2 separate regions of the Homo sapiens genome follow, and region 1 is linked to region 2. Evidence: promoter capture Hi-C in 16 types of primary human blood cells and fetal thymus (Javierre and others, 2016). All regions are on one chromosome and are shown on one strand. Each heading gives the region's core, a stretch centred on a gene start or on the middle of the fragment in contact. The rest is flanking DNA. Distances are from core to core; before and after follow the strand shown. Region 1 overlaps MITA1 (metabolism induced tumor activator 1). Region 2 holds the start of IL7 (interleukin 7).

Evidence for each region. The method cuts DNA at HindIII sites, captures the fragments that hold promoters and counts their contacts. A CHiCAGO score of 5 or more calls a contact.
Region 1: a fragment that was not itself captured here is called in contact with the fragment with the promoter of IL7 in region 2 in 1 of 17 cell types (total B cells); the score reaches 6.0 in total B cells.

What each region holds. Positions count from the first base shown.
Region 1 is chr8:78,906,522-78,909,412 of GRCh38, reverse strand. All of the region lies in intron 1 of MITA1 (metabolism induced tumor activator 1), which reads right to left. All of the region lies in intron 2 of LOC105375912 (a long non-coding RNA gene), which reads left to right. Among named protein-coding and RNA genes, the nearest start is that of LINC02605, 70 kb to the right of the region's middle. RefSeq lists an enhancer at 1,366-1,867. The HindIII fragment of the contact is 1,431 bases long and covers 886-2,316 here.
Region 2 is chr8:78,803,949-78,807,319 of GRCh38, reverse strand. It overlaps IL7 (interleukin 7), which reads left to right and starts at 1,857. Exons shown (of 6, transcript NM_000880.4): 1 at 1,857-2,407. The coding sequence starts at 2,398. It overlaps MITA1 (metabolism induced tumor activator 1), which reads right to left and starts at 2,848. Exons shown (of 3, transcript XR_002956715.2): 1 at 1,625-2,848. The HindIII fragment of the contact is 3,968 bases long and covers 1-3,371 here.

The DNA.
Region 1 (2,891 bases), core at 352-2,851, 100 kb before region 2:
CTGTTGGCAAAGTTCGGGAGAATACTTTCCTTCTCATCTCTTAGAACGGGAACAAAACTCTGTAGTTTACATCCCAATATCTTGTGTTTTCTAGTAAAATAGAGCTTTTAAACTTTTATATACGGTTATCTTTCTTTGTAGGAACCAGACAATCATCTCGGCATAAGCAAGTGACAGCCAAAACTGTTCTCAGTTTCATTAGTTCTGCCCATCTGAAATTTGGTTACCTGCGCAGGCTTGGTTGGGATAGCTTCTCTCCCAAGGATCTTTTGCTCCTCATGTGAATATACTTCTGATGAAAATATCCCATCATTTCTGATTTTGACCATGAATACAAGGGAGGCACAAATTGGGGACTCCCAGAAATACTTGGGAGGAAATTTGGGGAGGCTAAGAAGTAGTTGTCTGAAATAAAGTCATACGCCAATTGTCAGTGAAACACAAAATACATTTTGGAACATCCAAGTAGGATTACAGTGGGAAGATGTAGGTACAACTTTGTAAATATAATTGCACAATCAAAATGAGTACTAATCCAGGCTCAAAAATCTCATTAGGGTACCAATAAACTCTTACGTCTAAGGTGCCTATGGCAATGTCTATTCTAGTTTTGATTCAAGTCTTCAACTTTCTATCTTCCTCTTTTTACCTTTTATCCTCCTCCCCCTCCCTTTTCCTCTCTCTCTCACATTTGTGTAATATTTAAAAGTATGATTCAGACAGAGTTAAATTTTGATTTCTTACCACATTACTAATCGAATTGTGGTCTGCCAGTGCATGAACTGCTTATTTCTGGCCAACAATAAGAAAAGCACAGAAATAGATATTAACCATTTAGAAACTTGTATTGCCATTGAAGATTACCACAACATTTAATTTTAAGCTTGATGAATCTAGTTATAAAAACTAGAGCTTATTTTTTCTCTTAACTCGGTTTTTCTAACATTTTTTATTAATGTAATGAAGGGATCCATCTGTGACAGATCAGAAATTAAAAAAAAAGAAAGAACCACCACAGGTGATTAGACCTGCCTGAACCTTTTGTAACATTCTTTTAGCAGAAAATGAATGTGTCATATGCATATTGGCTTTTCCGGAATCCATGAGGTGAATGAATTTTCAGGCTTGGATGAGTGTTAGAAACTAAAATAAACTAAATGACCAGAATCACCACCAAAATCAGCCCTCATAATAGTCTGGCACTAATGTTGTTGCTGCCACCGCTATCACAATATAACCAGACCTTGGACCTCAGGGGGTCTGTTGCTGTCACTCACTGTCCCTGAAATAGCATCTTCCCTCTCCCCAGTCCTTTGCATTGCTCACCCTACATTCAAACTACGGGGTTAGAATATCTCATTGGCCACACCAACATCCTTCCAAGTGCCTTCTGAAAATGGCTGTTGGGTCTATGAATACCGGCTGCCACTAACATCTATCCCATCTGTGGTAGTTCACTTTTTCCCAAGAGCCAGCCTCCGTTTACAGGCAATGGAGTAGAAGAAGCTGCTTAGGTAGTCACTGAAGATATTGAAGGAATTTAAATGAGAATTTGACATCCAACATCAAGGAAGCATTCCTAAAGTGTGAGCCACCTACTGTTTTGTGGTAAATGAAACCACTCATATATAATTGCCTGTAGCTCAGGAGTATCTGGGCCCCTGCTGACCATGTTTAATGAAGGACATAAAGCCTTACAATTCCCAGATGCATGAACTCGAATCAATATTGTTCCTTATTGAGTTCTCATTTCCTAAAAAAAAGAGGGGCCATCTTATCTTCAAGACAGTGTTTCCCAGAATCCATAAGAAAGAAATATCAAATCTTCACGGCAGTCGATGAAACACACATAAGATTCTTCAGATTACCCACATGAAATGCTAGCATAGCCTCTCCTTGATATCTTGTTTTCCTTTATAAAACATATATTAATACAGTAATTTCATGTTTTCTCAGAAGAGAGACACAAAATTATGTATCTAATAAGAAGCTGCTATTAAGGAATAAGGCAGAAGAAGCCTATAATAGTTGGAATAAAACACACACAGTAATGTTTCATAGGAGACCTAAAGTACTCATAACTTTTTTGTGTGATAGAAAAAACAATGTTTTGTTGGTGGGAGGTGGGAAGGAAAATAGAATAGGCTTGGGGAGAGCTTGTTGTTTTCTTTACTGCAGAACTGAGTAGGAAATAGTTCCAATGACTTAGCATGTGACAGGCTCTTAGTTATTATTCAAATTAAAGTGAGTTTCTGGAGCATGTCATGTCTGTAAGCCTGACATTTTTAGAAATGACAGTGTGTCTGAGAAAAAGCTTTTAGCATATTCTCAGCGGTAGCTAAATATGAAATGCCAGACTTCTCCCTGCTCTGCTGAATGAATTTTTATGGAGAACTGATGAATGATTACATTATCTTGAGGGTGAAGGAGAATTTAGGATGTCCTTAGTGTATTTTGCTTTAGTCTCCCCTTTGTCCCTATTCTGCAAAGAAGTCAAGTTTAAAACTCACAGAAATGCACAACAATTGTGGTATTATATAAAATTACAATGTCACAAAGTGCTAAAATAATAATAATTCCACTGATGTAGAGAGGGGGAAATAACATTTAGGCAAAAGTAGGTCTAATACATAATATCTTAAGTACAATGTGAAAAACATGGTATGATCTGTAAAAAAAAAATACGTCACTTACCAATATTACAGTTCCAAGTTTCACATTCATGCTCAAATGAAAACTTCTCAAGTGCTGTCCCGTTACAGAAGAACACAAAACATTATTAAAATTCTATGCCTTGGAGCCGGGCACAGTGACTCATGCCTATAATCTTAGCACTTTGGGAGGCCAAGGTGTGAGAATTGCTTGAGGCCAGGAGTTCGAGGCCAGCCTGG
Region 2 (3,371 bases), core at 608-3,107:
TCAGATATGTACAACCCTTATTCTACCTGGATTTATGGTGATTGTGATAAAAGGAAGACGGATTTCCTTTTGTGCAAAGTATTGATGGATGCTCTTTTACTTTGTTCCTGGAAAGTTAAAAAAAGAAAAAGGTGCAGGCTATGAACAGTTACATACTTCAATGCTGCTGTCAGGGATTTAAAATAAATAAATAAATAAATAAATAAATAAATAAATAAATAAATCCCCAACCTAGGCGTGTTTCATTATAGAAATCATTTTTAAAACTCACTCCAGTGTCATGTCTGTCCTCCTCCCCACCTCCCACTCTAGGTTCCAGTCAAATGGAAATATGTGGCTTTTCTCACTCCATTCTGTCTCTCTTTTCCATTTGCTTACCCCCTTCGCTTCCTCTTTCATTCTATTTCCTTCTGCTTTCATGAACTTTCTCTTTCACACATATTCACTGATGCATTCCCACTCACCTGTTCTCTCTTACTCTGTCACCCCCCAGTACTTACTGAATGCCAGCCATGGGCTAAAGACCATAGTAAGTGGACGCTGGGCAGGAAGAGAAAGGCCATTGTGGCTGGAGGATAGTGATGTGGTACCACGAAACGTCAGAGAGGGCAGTGGGGCCCAGATCACCAGGGCACTGAGGGCCTGGTACCCAGTGGGAAGTGACCAGAAGGTGGGGCACAAAATAGAATCAGATATCCTGCTGCTCTGAGAAGAATGAAGGGGTTGTGGGCAAAAGTGAAAGCTGGAAGATCCCTTAGACAGTCTCTATAGTCACCTTAGGGTTAATTTTGGAGGTGGGGCAGACAGGACTTGTCTATGGATTTGATGTGGGAAATGAGACCAAAAAAGGAATCAGAGACCCAAGTTTCAGGCTTGAGCAACTCTGTTCTCCCTAGTTCATTGCCATCCTTTTTTTTCCTTTCTCCTTCCCTCCTCTTCCTTGTTCACGCTATAGCAGAATGTGACATACTCCTTACCAGCCCCAAGTTCATTCCTCTTCAAGTGTCAGTTTAGAAGTCACAGACTCCAGGAAACTTTCCTGAAGTCCCCACACTGGGGCAAAGCCACACACGTACTGTCATCTCCCTCCCGGCATCAGTGTGCACATTATTACTTTATTCACAGGAGTTCCAAGCAGGAGTTTCTACAGCCCAAATGCAGCAAGTCTGTGTCTAAGCTCAGTTAGCTAAGTGAAATTTGGAAAGTTACTTAAGGAAGTCTCAGTCCCCACATCTGTAAAGTGCAGATAAGAAAATGGTCTACCTCACACAAAGTTTTGCATGAGATGATATACATAAAATGCTTAGCACAAAACTGGCAGAGAGCAAATGCTAGATAAATGATAGTCGTTATTATTATCGCTGTTGTTACTGGTTTACATTATCCACCTTCATCTAAGCAGGGTTTCTGCAGAATAGCAGAAACCAAACTAATGTAGCAAATAAGCTACATAATTCAAGCCCAGGAAAAAGTTAACATTTCAGTGGCATGCATTCAAGACGAATAGTTTGATTTATTAGCCAATTCAGATAAATGTGCACGTGGAAGTCATAGTTAAATATTATCGTCAGTTTCCACGTCCTGCGTTTAATTTGGGGTTTGATTTTCCAAATACAACACTTACCAGATTAGGTGGACCCACAGGATTATTTTTCCTTGAGGTCTCACCTGAGCAGGTGCATGTACAGCAGACGGAGCAGAAAGAGACTGATTAGAGAGGTTGGAGTGGTAGAGGGCGTGACCCTCTTAATCATTCTTCACTTCCTTTTTTAAAAGACGACTTGGCATCGTCCACCACATCCGCGGCAACGCCTCCTTGGTGTCGTCCGCTTCCAATAACCCAGCTTGCGTCCTGCACACTTGTGGCTTCCGTGCACACATTAACAACTCATGGTTCTAGCTCCCAGTCGCCAAGCGTTGCCAAGGCGTTGAGAGATCATCTGGGAAGTCTTTTACCCAGAATTGCTTTGATTCAGGCCAGCTGGTTTTTCCTGCGGTGATTCGGAAATTCGCGAATTCCTCTGGTCCTCATCCAGGTGCGCGGGAAGCAGGTGCCCAGGAGAGAGGGGATAATGAAGATTCCATGCTGATGATCCCAAAGATTGAACCTGCAGACCAAGCGCAAAGTAGAAACTGAAAGTACACTGCTGGCGGATCCTACGGAAGTTATGGAAAAGGCAAAGCGCAGAGCCACGCCGTAGTGTGTGCCGCCCCCCTTGGGATGGATGAAACTGCAGTCGCGGCGTGGGTAAGAGGAACCAGCTGCAGAGATCACCCTGCCCAACACAGACTCGGCAACTCCGCGGAAGACCAGGGTCCTGGGAGTGACTATGGGCGGTGAGAGCTTGCTCCTGCTCCAGTTGCGGTCATCATGACTACGCCCGCCTCCCGCAGACCATGTTCCATGGTAAGCGCTCTTCTCCCTTGCGCACAAGTTCGCGCGCCCGACGCGCCGGGGCAATCCCAGACGCGCTGGGGGCCCCTGCTCCTAGGCAAGTCCGGGAATAGCCCGGCCTTGCACTTTGGACCTGCGGAGAGCACTGGCTCTCCCATGGGCAGCCAACAGCCGCGCCTGAGTATCCTGGCACATAGCCACTTGAACCTGGGGCGGCTGCTGCCCCTGGCAGGCTGCGAGTAACAGTCCCCAACGCCTGCTTTCTGTCCTGAGAGGGAACGCTGCAGCCTCCGCGCCGCTCAGCGGTGGCAGCCCACAGCCGGTCTCAGAAGCAGCCAAAGGCTCTCTGTCTGGCGCCCTTCCCGTGCTCCTGGCCGCCCCAAGTTACTCACGCAGGCGGCCCGGGTTCGGCGAGTAGCTGGGCTCTTGCAGCTCAGAACTCCCTAGAGAAGTGAAAGCGAAGCTCCCACGGGACGCGCTTTTAAACCCTAGGGGAACAGGTCTCCGGAAAACCCCATTTTTCCCCCCTGAGTAAGACTGGGAGTTTCCGGCAAGGGCTGTACCTTGCGCCTATTGCTGGGAAACCAGTCCTGGGGCTGGCGCTGAGGAAGGCCAGCTTCTGGGTTTTTTTGTTTTTGTTTTTGTTTTTGTTGTTATTTTTTCCTACGGGCGCTTCTTGATGGAGGCAGAATGAAATAGGCGTGACTCTAACTTCCAGACCAGTATTGAGACCTAATATATCTTATTTGTGCAGAATACGGATTTAGAATGGACAGGGACAGAATTCAGGAGGGTTGGATTCGGATGGCAGTCATATATGACCAATGAAAGAGCCAAAAAACTTACTGGAATTAAAAAAGAGGAAAAAGGATTGTGAGGGGAAAAGATCTGCTTAGGAAAATTGGAATGCTTTACAGTAAGTACTTCCTCAAGCAAGAAGACAGCTGGGGGGAGGGTGCGGGAATAGGAAACTGAC